Linked DNA regions of Homo sapiens: region 1 is linked to region 2. The links are contacts of gene promoters, found by promoter capture Hi-C in blood cells and fetal thymus (Javierre and others, 2016). All regions are on one chromosome and are shown on one strand. The core of a region is centred on a gene start or on the middle of the fragment in contact, and the rest is flanking DNA. Distances in the headings are between cores, read along the strand shown.

What was found. The method cuts DNA at HindIII sites, captures the fragments that hold promoters and counts their contacts. A CHiCAGO score of 5 or more calls a contact.
Region 1: a fragment that was not itself captured here is called in contact with the fragment with the promoter of ZYX in region 2 in 4 of 17 cell types (neutrophils, monocytes, naive CD8 T cells and 1 more); the score reaches 7.9 in neutrophils.

What each region holds. Positions count from the first base shown.
Region 1 is chr7:142,997,828-143,005,423 of GRCh38, reverse strand. No RefSeq gene overlaps it. Among named protein-coding and RNA genes, the nearest start is that of OR9A2, 26 kb to the left of the region's middle. The HindIII fragment of the contact is 776 bases long and covers 2,905-3,680 here.
Region 2 is chr7:143,376,767-143,383,513 of GRCh38, reverse strand. ZYX (zyxin) reads right to left here and starts at 2,169. Exons shown (of 10, transcript NM_003461.5): 1 at 2,105-2,169; 2 at 1,735-1,957; 3 at 1,067-1,266; 4 at 829-921; 5 at 192-713. The coding sequence starts at 1,942. It overlaps FAM131B-AS2 (FAM131B antisense RNA 2), which reads left to right and starts at 2,489. Exons shown (of 2, transcript NR_161353.1): 1 at 2,489-3,248; 2 at 3,405-4,359. MIR6892 (microRNA 6892) reads right to left here and starts at 828; the gene lies at 714-828. It also overlaps a transcript of FAM131B not described here. RefSeq lists silencers at 1,650-1,699, 1,730-2,759 and enhancers at 3,260-3,349, 2,473-3,373, 3,530-3,609. The HindIII fragment of the contact is 8,995 bases long and covers 1-6,747 here.

The DNA of each region.
Region 1 (7,596 bases), core at 2,043-4,542, 380 kb after region 2:
CATTGGCAGAACCTTTTCATTCATCCTGTATTATGTAAGGACGTTTTAAGGTGTGTGTAGTCGATTTATTAAATGTGCTAAATTCAATGGGATAGAAATAGGACAAAACCTTATTTTTCCCTCTCTCTTTGCCTCCAACAGGCTCCATCAGATCTCCCTGTCCTTCCCCTGTCACATTTAGGGCAGATCCTGTAATTTTCCTTGCTTTGCTTAAAAATGCCTTCATAGTGTTCATGAAGACCCATTATCAGGTGTTAAACTGTGCTTTTCAATCTATATTAGAACTTCAATATTGAATCCAATTTAAAGAACTTCTTTTCCACTGATCAGAGCTGACTGGCTATTTAGAGACCTGCAGGTGGAGAGCAGAAATGGTTTGCTCTTTTCACTCCTCCTTACTCATCTACTCCAATCCCCCATCTTTGCCTGGATCCTATGGTATTAAGACAGGGAAGAGGAGGTCAAGGGGAAGGGGATGATGTCTCTTCACTTGCCTGGAGCTGTTTGTCCCATCCCTAGCTGCTGATGCCCTTTTGCGGGGCAAGCATCCAAACGGTATCTTTCTTACTGGGTGCATTTGTGGATTCTTTAGATACCTTGTAGGAACACCTGCATTTCACATTGCCTTGTGATCCCCTTCAATTCCTGTGCTTGTTAAACTTACAGCCTCTCAGTGCTGGGGTCTCATTTGAGGAGGTACCACTTTTGGGCCAGGAACCTTCACCAAGGTTCATCATTCCCATGGCATCCACGTGGCCCCTTTTGCCCTATCAATGATAGGAATACCAGCTTGCTATCATAACTTCCCACTAATAAGGCAAGAGGACTCTTTGCTCTCTCAGACTCTGAAGGTAGGTGTTCATTGCTGTAACAGTGAAACAGCAAGAGAACTAACATAACTAACTCCATTTTTGTTTCAGGGACCTTTACCCATGCCTGCATGTAGGCTAGGATAATTTTAGAGCACTGAGATATTACGCAAAAACGGCAATCATGTAGTTTTAAAAACTAACTCTGGGATTAAAGGAGACTTATGTAAACAATTGCATGAAGTTTTGTTAAAGATTTATAGGAGCATCATGACCTGACCGAAGACAAGAAAGTTCCCCGCCTCCTCAGACCCTCGCTGGTGCCCGGATGTCTGAGGTCATTGGTCACCTCTCCATCCCAACCCCCTCCTCCTCCTCCAGCATTAACATAAAAAGGGTACAATTTGTACCGACTTAAGATGGTACTTTAAGATGCAATTCCATCATCGTCTCGGTTTGCTGGCTCTCCGAATGAACATGCTTTTCCTCCCACCAATTCGTGTCTCATGCTGGGCTTTTGAGCAGTGAGCAGCTGAACCTGGGTTTGGCTACATTGCTTCCTGAGTTTCTCTCACCATGTCACTCCCCTAGGGGCACCAGGGTGGGTCTTCTGGGACTTTGTGTTCAACCAGGAAGTGGCTAAGAAACAGACCTAACTTCTATAGGATAAGTAAAGGACCTAAGCCTCTTGGAGACGGCCTTTCCTTGCCTAGGGCATGTGGGAGAAGGAGCTATAAAACTCTACTCCCGTGAATTTCCTCCCTCTAGTAAACACTCTTTTTCTTTATAGCATGGGTTGCTGGTGAAACAAAGGCCAATGGATTGTCATGGCATTTTTAATGTCTTACAGATCTGTGTCTGGCACTTCTTTAAATTATTTTGGTACTAAATGCCTATTTCTTGTGGCCTTGAAATTCTATGACATATGAAAATGTTAATTTTCATATGTCATTATAGAGGCAACCACAAGAGGGCAATATTTCAGCAGCCGAAACAAAACCCTAGGAGAAGATGGCTGCCTTCCTCGGAGTACACCGATGTTGCTCAGATGCCTTTGGTCTACCTAGGTTGAAAGCTAGATAGAAAGTTCAGAATTGGGACAAGGTAAAGGGTCACATCAGGAAAATGCAAAGACGGGAAGGTGTAGCAAGACAGCAGCACACCAGTCTGGCAGACAGACAAAGACTAGAAAATTTGGGAAGAAATCTGCAATTGAGAAATGGGAAGTAAAGCACTCTTTTCTCACCTCTACTCTTACCCTACAAACCTGCTCCAGGCTATTCCACTCTGTGGTAGGCTGAGTCTTCCAAGAAGGAGACACCCAGCAGGATCAGAAGTCTGAGCAATTTCTTTGGGAAAATACAGAGGGAGAAGAAGGAAGAAGCCTGGCATTGGGAAGGCAGCGAGAGCCATCAGATAGTGATGGGGGCGTGAGCATTATGAAGGAGAGAGTCAAGGTGGGAAGACTGAGTGGAAGAGTCTGCGATTGCAGTGCAGCTCTAACAAAGTCCAACAAGTGCACCGAGTTCTTCTTGAGTTTACATTGCTTACCTGAGTGGCTCCCTGCCAGCCACAGTCATTAGCTAGGAGCAGTCTGTGGGAAGCATGACCTAACTAAGACATGAGAAGGATTTTGGAGCATAGCAGCTAGGGCTGCCAGTCAGCTATGCTCCCTGTCGTTAGAGATGTGAGAGGGGCATTTGCAGGGCCACTGCACACCCTAAACAATGAGTGAATGAATGAACGAATGCCCTTTTCTTATCCTTGTTTAACCATTACGTTACCATCCAATCTTATATCTCCTTTCCTGCAAAGCTTTTGAAATACAAGTACATACCCACTGTTATTATTTCCATACTTCCCATGCATTTTTTTTTAATCCGCAGCAAGTTGGATTCTCCTTGCCACTGTCCACTGAAACTGTTCCAGCCAAGCTGATCAGTTTTCACATGCAAACTGACTTCCCATTTATTTGCCCTGTTTCCAAGGACTGCATGAATTTGGAGCTCAGAAATAAAGTCAATTGGGGAAGATAATGGTGGATAAGAGATATTTGAACAGCCAAAAATGTGAGAGAAGGAAGGGAGATAAAGCTTTGAATATTTTATAAAAGAGGAGGAAGAAAAGAAGAATACTGAGAGGTTAAAGAAAGTGTGGACTTTAAAAACAACTTCTGGGATATTGAAAAATCTTTTCAAACAGGCGAATCAGGCAAACCCAGGGACTTTGTGATCATATGAAATCGAAGTGAAAAAAATAACCAATCAAATCTTCCATCTTCTGGCTAACTTCAGATTTGCCAGAAGAGGTCAGCAAAGACATTAACATCAGTCTTTGCCCTCCCTCGAGGCAGGATGGTGGGTTAGAAAGTGCTTTCTGCCACTTTGCTTAGAATTTATGCAGGGCTTCCATTATCCATACCCCTATCTTTTTTAGGCCCTCTTTCCAGAGTTTAACAGCTGCCTGAGCTCCTGGTGAGAGGATGGACCAATCTAAAATAAATAATAACACACATACCCTTTGTCTTATGTAATGACAGATCTTCAATTTAAATTTATGTACTGCATCTCTATGTAAACTAATTAAAATTTCTGGCATGTTAGCCTATGCAATTAGACAAGAGAAAAAAAATGCAGGGCCAAGATGTTAAAAAGGAGGAGAAAAAAAGATTAACATGAATTTTAAATAATTTGTTTATCTGGAAATCTCAACAAAATAAAGTAAAAAACCAATGTGGCTGGGCACAAAATTTATATTGAGAGTCAAAAGACTTCACATATAAAACACATTAAGTTAGAAAATATAATGGAAGGAAAGAACCTCATTTACAAAAGCAAAAGCAAAGAAATATAACATTATTAGGAATAAGCTTAACAAGTAAAGATTTACATTTAAACTAGATTGACATTTAAAAAAATGCTCCTGAAAGACACAAAAGTAGATTTGAGCAAATGGAAAGGTGGAGTAAACAATACAAAGATATCAATTCTCCTCTAAGTGTATCCATAAAAATGATACAATCACAATTTAAAAATCAATAGTATTTTTTAAATCTAGAGAAGCAGATTACATTTTATTCATGCATTATTTCATTCATTTATATTTTTAGAGACAGAGTCTTGCTCTGTCAGCCAGGCTGGAGTGTAGTGGCATGATCATAGCTCACTACAGACTTGAACTGCTGGACTCAAGTGATCCTCCCACCTCAGCCGCCTGAATAGCTGGGATTACACATGTGAGCCATCGTGCCCAGCTTAGATTAAACTTTTTATTATGGAAAAATAAACAAGCAAAAAATTTTCAAAAACATTCTGAAATAGAAGCATAATGAGGAATAACTACATCTGTAAAACAGACTATATAGCTATAATGTAAACAGTACTATCATTGGGAAAAAATGAATTATTCAATAAATGGTCAAACAAACTAGCAGCTACCTAAAAAACAAAAGTTAATTCCATTACTGCCTATGTCATACCAGGCTGTTTAAAATGGGTCAAATATTTAAATGTAAAAAAAAAACATAGATTTAACATAAGAAATAAAAGAATGTTTATAAAAATGGGTAAGACCTTTCTTAGGATGACTTAAAACACAGATGTCATAGAAGATTGACTTTATGAAGAATTTTTTAAAAATTTGCTATGGTTAATACTACCCCAAGGTAAACAGACACACGAAAACACCAGAAAACAATTTCAACTCATATCACAAAAGGTTAGTTTGCATCATGTGTAAAAAGCTCCTATAAGAAAAAAATAAAACTACTCAGCAGAAAAATGGGCAAAAGATAAGCACATGTGAGAATATTTTCATCTTCATTCATAAGGAGAACAATAAAAATTAAAGCCATATTAAGATACTATTTTCAGTTATTAAACTGGCAAATGTCAAAAAGTTTTATAGTACACTGCGTGAAAATAGGTAGTGTAAAATGTAATAGCCTGCATGAAGGGCAATTATGTAATATATATTAAAGTGACAAATGCTTTTACGCTTTGGCCTAGCAATTCCTCTTCTAGAAATTGTCATTTAGATATTGTGTACAGGGAAATAATGTATGTATTCCATTTGGTGGAATAATCTGGAGTTATTAAAAAAGGAAACAAGAACCAAGAATGTCTTATGTATAAATATACAATGATCTGTACTGCATAGGACATATGTTCGATATACTACCATTTGTACAAAAAGAAAATGTGCTTGTATGCATTTGCTTATGCAGACGTATATGCTTAAAATTACCTCTGTAAAGACACAGAAGAAAGTGATAACATTGGTTGCCTTGAGGGAGGAGGATCAGATAGAAAAGTGTTTCAAAGTATCCTTTAAAATTTTGAACCATGGAAGTATATTATGCTTTGATGCTTTAATATTTGAATATAGTTATATCTTCTTTTGATATTCTGGCACTTTTAAAAACATCTGTATTTGGGGTACTATATGATCCTGATTCTCTAAGTGTTATAATTAACATATATATCTTATTAATCCAAAACTCAACTATGTAGTCTTTCTAGAACATAGCTAGGAATCAGAAAATAGCAAAATAAACCAGCAAGCAGACAAAATAAATGTTACAAAGTCCATGAACCACATAAAGCTTAGCCACTTTACTCACAGGAAGTCTGTTAGAGTCCCTTTTATCTGTTTGTTTATTTATTGGAAATAAGCTTGATAAAATGATTTACTCATAGAAAGGAGATAAGAAAAGACAGGTCTACTGAAAACAACAAGCAGTGTGTTAGCTCTCAATCAAGAGACATGTTGAGAGAAATTAAAAACCAACTGTACAAAGCTGACCAAAGGACTTAAGACATTTTTGTTCATTTAGTGCAGGAGCAAACCTTCTCTGAGATCATGTATATATGACAGTGGCATCCTAATGATCGTCTTGAGAAACCAAGAAGACATTCAGGTATGCTCAATAGAATCTATTAAGACTGATTTTCATGCCTAACATTTAAATAAAATATAAAAACTTTTGATGATTAAGTCTAAAACTTAGAGTCTCTGGAAAATGGAATAACACATTTCAGGTTGGTGGTGTTTTGGAGTATATTTTTAAATGCTTAACTGAAGATATCACCAAATGCCAGAGTAATTGGTCAGAGATTTCTTTTTCTATTGAACACAAATGAAAACATCAGTATCAAAAATTGGCAGTAGATATGCAAAAAGGGAGTCAGGAAAATTATTCTTGTACAAGAAAACAACTTTATAAGAGCTCAGGAGAAACTTCTAACTTTTCTACAGTGGAATGACTCCAACAATCACAGTCAAAATTTAAAGAATGGGTAATATGTTTTAGCAAATAAATGAGAGGAATTGTAGCAGTCATTAATCTAGGACAGGTTAGAATAAAAGAGGTGGTAACATAATGATTAACCATTTAACAGAGTGATTAGGACTATTGCTGGCATACTCTTTGACCCAGCTATCCATTTCCAGGAATTGTTTTTCTAAATGTACTTACACGAGGATGCGAGGGTGCGGAGATATGTACAAAAGGACACATACACCCTTGTTGGAAACACATATATCCCTTGTTGGAAACATATATATCTTTTGCTTTAAAATAATTCAACTTGGCTGGGTGCAGTGGCTCACGCCTATAATTCCAGCAGTTTGGGAGGCCGAGGCGGAAGGAATGCTTATGCTCAGGAGTTTAAAGCCAGCCTGGACAACATAGGAAGACCTCATCTCTACAAATAATTTTAAAAATTGGCTGGGCTTGGTGGCGGGCACCTGTAGTCCCAGCTACTCAGGAGGCTGAGGTGGGAGGATCGACCCTGGGAGGTCAAGGTTTCAGTGAAGTGTGATCACACCACTGCACTCCAGCTTGAACAACTAAGTAAGACTTTGTCTCAAAAAAATAAAAATAAATAAAATAAAAGAATGCAACTGGAAGCAGCTTAAGTGTCTAAGGAAAGGGAACTGATTAAATAAATTCTGTTGTATTTATTAAATGGAATACTTACTACGTAACCATTAAATAGAAGTGGGGAATACTATATATATTGATATATAAAATTGACTACTTTAAAATAAATAAAAAGAAAGCTATAGAATACCATACAAGGTATCATATATTTTGTTTAAAAACATTTCTGTGTGTGTGTGTGTGTGTGTCTGTGTGTCTTAGGATATGATTAGGAAAAGGGTTAGAAAGATACCCATTGACCTGTTATATCACTTGGCTGAAGATATGGGGTGAATGGACAACGGGCCAGAAATGTTCACATTACTTTATGCATAGCTGTAGTTCTTGATTTTGTAAAGTTATTTTTAAAGTGTCTATAAAGAAGATTATTGTTGTTAACCTTGAAAAGTTAATTGATGGGATAGACTAGGAAATCAAACCCAAACTATAATTGGATTAAAATAAAGCATTAAAAATGACAAAACTTGAGAATGGTGTATAATAATCTGTCTTGGATATAAAGAGAATTTCTGAATAGGTGGTGTCAAATGATTAAAAGTTATTATAATGAATAGGAATTGTTTTATCTGCCTAGAATGCCTTCCTCCTTTCTCTGAGGGAGCAACTTTTTCCCTTGGGAAATGCTCCTTTCACCTTTGCAAACATTTGGCTTAAGAATATGTGATTTTCCTTCCCAGTCTATGCACCTGACCACAAGTGATGATAGGCCTGAAGGTGCACACATAACTCAAACTGGGCCAACCATTTAGACACCACTTCACCCCAGTGATAAGAGGTGGTGTTGGTGTCTACCTGACTCAAGCAAGACCAATCACAGCTCTCCCTCAGCATATGCCAAACTGG
Region 2 (6,747 bases), core at 920-3,419:
TCCTCCAGAGGAGCATTTTCCTACCATTGTTCCACCAGGCTAACCCCAGAGGATGAAAATTCCTATCCCGCCACCCCGCAACCCCCGTGTCCACCCTGACTCTCCAATCACCTTATGCTTATGCTCTGGCTCCTGACCCAGCCCCGCCCCAGTGCCCTGGTACCAAGCCTTGTCCTATCACCATCCCTCACCTGGTTTTGGTTCTGAGCCGGTGGGGGCACGGGGTGCTGCTTCTCCTGCACTCGGGGCTTCTCCCTCTGCTGGGCATAGGTGAAGCTGGGAGGTTGAGGGGAGCCTGTGCCAGCAGAAAGAGCTTCGGGGTGCCCCAATTTTTGATTTGGTTGTGACCCAGATCCACCTGGGGCTCCAGGACTGAACTTGGAAGCCACAGGAGTAAACTTAGGAGTCACTGGAGAAAACTTAGGGGCTGGAGCCGGAGATGAGGCTGGGGGCCCTCGGGGCTGGGTGTTAGCCAAAGACACAGGCTGGGTCTGGGACTGGACATGGAGTTGGACCTGAGGCTTGGGCTGGGGCTGGGGCTGAACATGGAACTGTGTCTGGCTCTGAGCCGGAGCCGGAACCTGGGGCAGAGGCTGGGAGCTGGAAGGGGACTTCCAAGGAGGCAGGGGTGCTGTGCCCCCGGCTGCAGGCTTGGTACTGGACTTGGAACTGAATGGAGTGGCCACTGGTGGGGGCACATATCCAGATGACACCTGCAAGGGGTGGGAGAGGGAAGAGAGATGCAGTCAGGAGGACACCATCCTCCTTAGTTCTATGCCCAGTCTCTCTGGCCCTGAGCCCTGCTTTTCCTACTCTCCGGTCCCTTACCCGGGCTTTGAAAGGATCATTCTTGGTCATGTCATCCAGCAGTGAGGACAGAGAGTCGATCTCCAAATCAATACTGCTCACCTTCTCCCTGGGCTAGAGGGTCAGAGGTCAGAGCACCTATTCCATGCCTCTATCCCCCCACCCCCAAGGCAGAGGTGCAGGGGAGGTAAGAAGAAAGGGCCCTCTTCTCCTCTCCTTGGGGGTGTCCAGTGCAGCCGCCCCTCCCAGGCCTCCGTACCTGTGGTGGGGGCGGTATGGGGGCCTCAGGCCCTCCCTCCTCCTCCGGAGGAGGCGGCGGGGAAGGGAAGATCTCCTCCTCCAGAGGCGCAGGGGGAAATGATTCCTCGATCGGGGGAGGGGGCGGCGGGAAGGCACCTCCCAGAGCACCCTCTGCATCGTCGCCATCCCCAGCAAGGGGAGGTGGAGGCAGGGGAAAGTCTGGGGTAGGAAGGAGAAAGACGTCGGCCGGGGTCCCTCTACCCCTCACCCAAGCTCCCCTCAGTTAACCGCTCTAACCCCTAACCCAAGAACTCTCTCAGGGGTCCCAGAGCGTGTGGGGAAGCAAAGGAGGGGCGCAGGGCGCCCTGGGAGTACCAGGTCAGGAAAGGCCGGGCGCACTGCCGAGGAGTGGTGCAGCTCCCGTTACACTTCGGAAAACGGACCCGGAGGGGAAGATTCGTGCCCCACATTCCCGACTCCCACTCCCAGGCGGGGGACTTGGAACGGTCCCAGGAGCCCTGGCTCCCAGCCACGAGCTCCACGATGAGGTAAGAACATCTGCTCGGGACAGGGTGGCTGCGCCCAGCCCCCTCGGCAACAACCTTTCCAGACATCCCCAAATTCCCGAAACGACTGCCCCCCACCCCGGCTCCTGCCGGGGTACATTCCCCAAGCCCCGCCGCATACCTTCCGGGGGCGGCGGGGGAATCTCGCCCACCCGGCCCATCTGTGCGCGCTGGGCCCCGGGTGCCGGGGGAGGCTCGCTGTCCCCGGGCCGGAAGGGATTCACTTTGGGCTTTGGGGCCACCACAGGGCCGAACTTCTTCTGCGGGGCGTAAAAAGCCGGAGCCGAGACCGAAACGGAGATCGCGGGAGACGGGCGGGGGGCCGCCATGGCCGGGCCGGGCTGCTGGGGTGGGTCGCCGGGTTACGCAGCGCGGAGCCGGGCTCAGGAGCCCCAGGCGGTCCCAGCTCCCCTTGGTGACCCCCACTCGCCCCCTCCCGGCGCCCCGCGCCCCCTCCCCGTGGGGCCGCCCTGCCGCTCCCCGCGCCTCACCGCAGGCCGGAGCGTGCGCGCCGCGTCTCGGGTGGCCGCCTCGGCGCCGGGTCCGCAGACTCTGCGTCCCGGTCCGGAGCAGCCTCCAGCCGGGCGGGGAGGGACACACGGAAGGAGGAGGGAGGGAGAAGAGAGGGGGCGGGGAGAGAGCGGCGCCCAGACCATACAAGGAGCGGCCCGGAGAGGGGGCGGGGAGAGCGGGGAAGGGCGGACCAGGCAGGAAACTCCCCCAGGAAGGGGCCCTGATCCTGCCTCAGGCCGGAGGCTCCGCCGAGGTCCGCTCGCCCCCACCCCACTCACTGCCGCCCCCGCCGCCCCAGCCCGGCTCAGACCCCCACTCCCTGAGCACAGGCCTCTGATGTCATTTCCTGACCTGCCTCCCCCTCCCCGCCCGACCCGCGGGTGCCCGAGATCTGACTCACCGTCCCCCTCCGGGCTTAGCCGGCGGAGGTGGGGCGGGTGCCGCCGAGGTAGCCACGCAGCCCCTGTGCGCCTCCGGCCCGGCCCAGCGACCTCCTCTCGGGCCTGCCGTTACCCGGTCCCCTCCTGCCACCACCCGCTACCCGGCCACCCCGAGTCCGCCTGGGGTGGCCGAACGTATGGAGCTGGGCTCCAGGGTGCACGGGGATGGGGGGTGAGGAGCGGGGCGTTCTCCCTCCCAGCACCCCCCAGCTGACTCTGTGCCCGGAGGGGGTGTGTGAGCCGGAACCTCCAGCATTCTTGGGGATACGAACTTCCAACGCTGGGCAGCCTCTTAAGGCTTCTAGGAATTCGCATCCCCAGCGCCCCAGCCAGCAGATCGGTTGCGAGAGGGACCGTTCGGGTCCGCGGGGCCGGGAATGGAGGTGGGAGGGCGGGGCCGAGGCGGCGGCCGCCTGCGGACTGGAGACCCGGGAGGACGGACGCGGACGCGGGCTGCTCGTCTTTTACGGCCCTTCAACGCCCACCACGACCCACTCCTCTTGGAGACCCCGGGCGACGGTGGGGCTCTTGGGCATTCTGAGACTGCGCTTGGTGGAGACCCCGGGCGACGGTGGAGCTCTTGGGCATTCTGAGACTGCGCTTGGTGGAGCCCCCTACTGGCCAGACTGGATTTCTCAGCCTGCGACTCAGCCCCAGGCTACACGAAAGAAGCCAGACCTGGGTAATTCTTCTAGTTCTTTTTTTTTTTTTTTTTAATTGCACTGGGAAACTTCCCCAATCTCGGCCCCAGTTCTTTCTCCAAACTAAGGAGTCATGGCCTTTCGCCCGCTAGTCCAGTATGCACCCGTAGGCGCTTCATTTTCTCTCCTCTTGTCAGCTTTTACTGCCTCCTGAGGCCTTCGTCTTGTTCACACTGAGTGTCCAGTCCCTCCAAATCCGGCTACACTCTACTGGCAAGGAGCACCTGGGCCATGTTTTAGAGATCATCCGAGGACTAACCCCAAAAGTTTATGAAGAGAAAGCAGAGGCCGAGCTGAAGAGATGGACCCGGGTCACACCCAGGTAAAGGCAGGATCTAAACTGAAACTGGTGTCAGATCTGGTTGCCTTGCACCCCTGATATCAGGTGAAGCAACACTGGGCAGGATAGAGCAGAGTGAGGTCAGAGTGTGAAGATCCAGCCTGATGCCCAAACTGACGCCTCTTCATTCTCCCCTGCTCCATCTGTAAACGTCACGGTTAATCCATCTACTTTATTGCATTATATAGAGAAATAAATGAAATGTCATAGCTGTATGCGCTATATGACTCAGTATTATTATTCAAATTCCAGTTCTGCCCAGAATGAAAATTCTGACCTGGTTACACTAAGGCGTTTTCCCCCATATGTCCCTTTCTGGGTTGCCAGGCAGATCTCTCAGGGGCCTCGGTATGTGCAATGTCCTCTCTTTCCTTCAACCTTATTAAGTCTTTAATTATACCTAGGACGACATCTTAATCACTTTTGCAAACCCCACTGATCTTTTTCTCTGGCATCTCATTGTCTTTGTCACCACCAGTATTTCTCACAGCCACAGGCATGTGTGGCCATGTATGATGGGTAGTACGCAGTGCACACCTCTCTGACACGCTCAAGCCAGCCCTGGGCCTGTCTCTGAAGACATGTTAGAAATTTGATACTGGATTTCCTGTGCATGTTGGAGATTGTGTCTTGGGCTTCACAGACCAAAAGTCTCATCACAAATCCTTCAAAATATGGCCCCTTTGGGGAAAAAAAGATAGTTAAGAAGATGATTTCAAGATAACTCATAGGAATAAAAGCTATCTACCCTCTAAATGTCTCCTTAAGTAATGTGCGCGTGCAAAATAGAGTATGTGTAATTGTTAGGCAGCTGAACCTATTTTTAAATCAGAAATAGAAGAGTGCGTAGGCAGGCATAGTTTTACTGACAACTAAGAGCATTCAGAATGCGGAATATTCAAACAAAGACTTTTAAGCCAGCCATTCTAAATACAAGTAGAAACACCCAGAGTATCCCAGAAGAACAGAATCACTGCCCAAGATGTCTCAAGAGGAGCAGCAGAGTCAGTGCTCTTAAAATGAAGACAATGGGCTGGGCGCAGTGGCTCACGCCTGTAATCCCAGCACTTTGGAGGCCAAGGCAGGCAGATCACTTGAGGTCGGAAGTTTGAGACAAGCCTGACCAACGTGGTGAAACCCAGTCTCTACTAAAAATACAAAAATTAGCCTGGTGAGGTGGCGGGAGCGTGTAGTCCCAGCTACTGGGGAGGCTGAAGCAGGAGAAGAATCGCTTGAACCCAGGAGGCGGAAGTTGCAGTGAGCCAAGATCACGCCACTGCACTCCAGCCTGGGCAACAGAGTGAGACTCCATCTCAAAAAAAAAAAAAAAAAAAATGCAGGAAATGAACAAGAGTGGCCTTAACGATTGCTGGGCATTTTTCTTAAGTAAGCAATTCTAATTGATATCCTTAGGCAGTATGTGTGAAGTACAGCAAATAAGAAGATGTTCCTGACTAAAGAATGCCCAACAGCTTAAGACCAGGCCAGGGAGACAAAGTGAGAAAATGGCCACTGCCCTTTACTACCTAAAACATCTTCACGCGCCTCCAAGGATTTATAACCATCAGGTACCAGAAAGTTTTCTTCAAGAGTGCACAGCATAAAGTAGGAAGTTAAGAGCAGTCAGGGAAGGAAAATGAAAAGACAGTGTCACAACAAAAGAATGATTTCTAAAATGGAAAGAGAAATGTGACCAGGAGGTTCTTTCCATATGCCAACTGCAGATGGATAGAGGTTCACTCACGGGCCAGGGACCACGTGAAGCATTCTGAAAACAGCAACAATAGCAGCACCCTAATAACATCAACAACTATAATAGCAGCACACGCTGAGAGAATGCTTAGAATATTGTTTGAGGTGCAATGCTAAGCACTTTAAATATATTAGCCCTGGCCAGGCACAGTGGCTCACGCCTGTAATCCCAGCACTTTGGGAGGCCAAGGTGGGTGGATCACCTGAGGTCAGGAGTTCAAGACCAACCTGGCCAAGATATAGTGAAACCCCATCTCTACTAAAAATACAAAAATTAGCTGGGCGTGGTGGCACGTGCCTGTAGTCTCAGCTACTCAGGAGGCTAAGATGGGAGAATCACTTGAACCTGGGAGGCGGAGGTTGCAGTGAGCCAAAATCGCACCACTGCATACCAGCCTGGGTGACAGATCGAGACTCTGTCCAAAAAACAAACAAACATATATGTATGTTTGTTTATATATATATTCGCCCCTTCTAATCATCACTATAAACCTGTGAGGAATATACATCATTATCCCATTTTTTAGTTAAGGAAACTGAGGCTAACTGGATGTTGGATTTCTCACCTCCTAAACTGCAAAATTTTTTTGCAACACAAATATTAAGACTCTCCTGCCCCATCCTTGCTTCCATCCTTGTATTCCATCACTTCTCCTCAGGCCCTCCTACCTGGTCCATCAACAGCCCCTTTCAAGTCTGCCTTCACCCCAACACCCCTACTTTATACCTGTGGGCTACCATTTTCTCTTTCTGTCTCATGACACCATCAAATTCTGTCTGTTTATATATCTATCTGCATGTGAACACATACACACATTTTGTATATGCAAGCTATATGTATACGTGCTTTTGTAAAATAGCACATTTCCAGAAGATGTCAAGAATTGTTAACAGCACAGCCAGGCGCAGTGGCTCATGCCTGTAATCTCACCACCTTGGGAGGCTGAGGTGGGAGGATCACTTGAGGCCGGGAGTTCAAGACTAGGCATGGCCAACATGGAGAAACCCCGTCTCTAGAAAAAATACAAACATAAGCCGGGTTGGTGGTGTGCGCCTGTAATCCCAGCTACGAGAATTGCTTGAACCAGGAGGTGGAGGTTGCAGTGAGCCGAGATCGAGATCGTGCCACTGCACTCCATCCTGGGCGAGGAATGCGACTGTGTGTCAAAAAAATAAACAAATAAAAAAGAATTGTTAACAGTAGTTAATGTTAGGGAGTAGATTGAGGAGGACAGAAGGCTTTTATACTTTTGTATTTTGTCCCTGTGAACATGTATTACTTTATAATCTGAAAAAAGAAAGGAGAGAAATGAAAGAGCCGTTGTATCTTTTTCCTGATATTGGAGCACCTCCCTTGCGCTGAGTACTGTGTGCACTCGGCCTGCAGC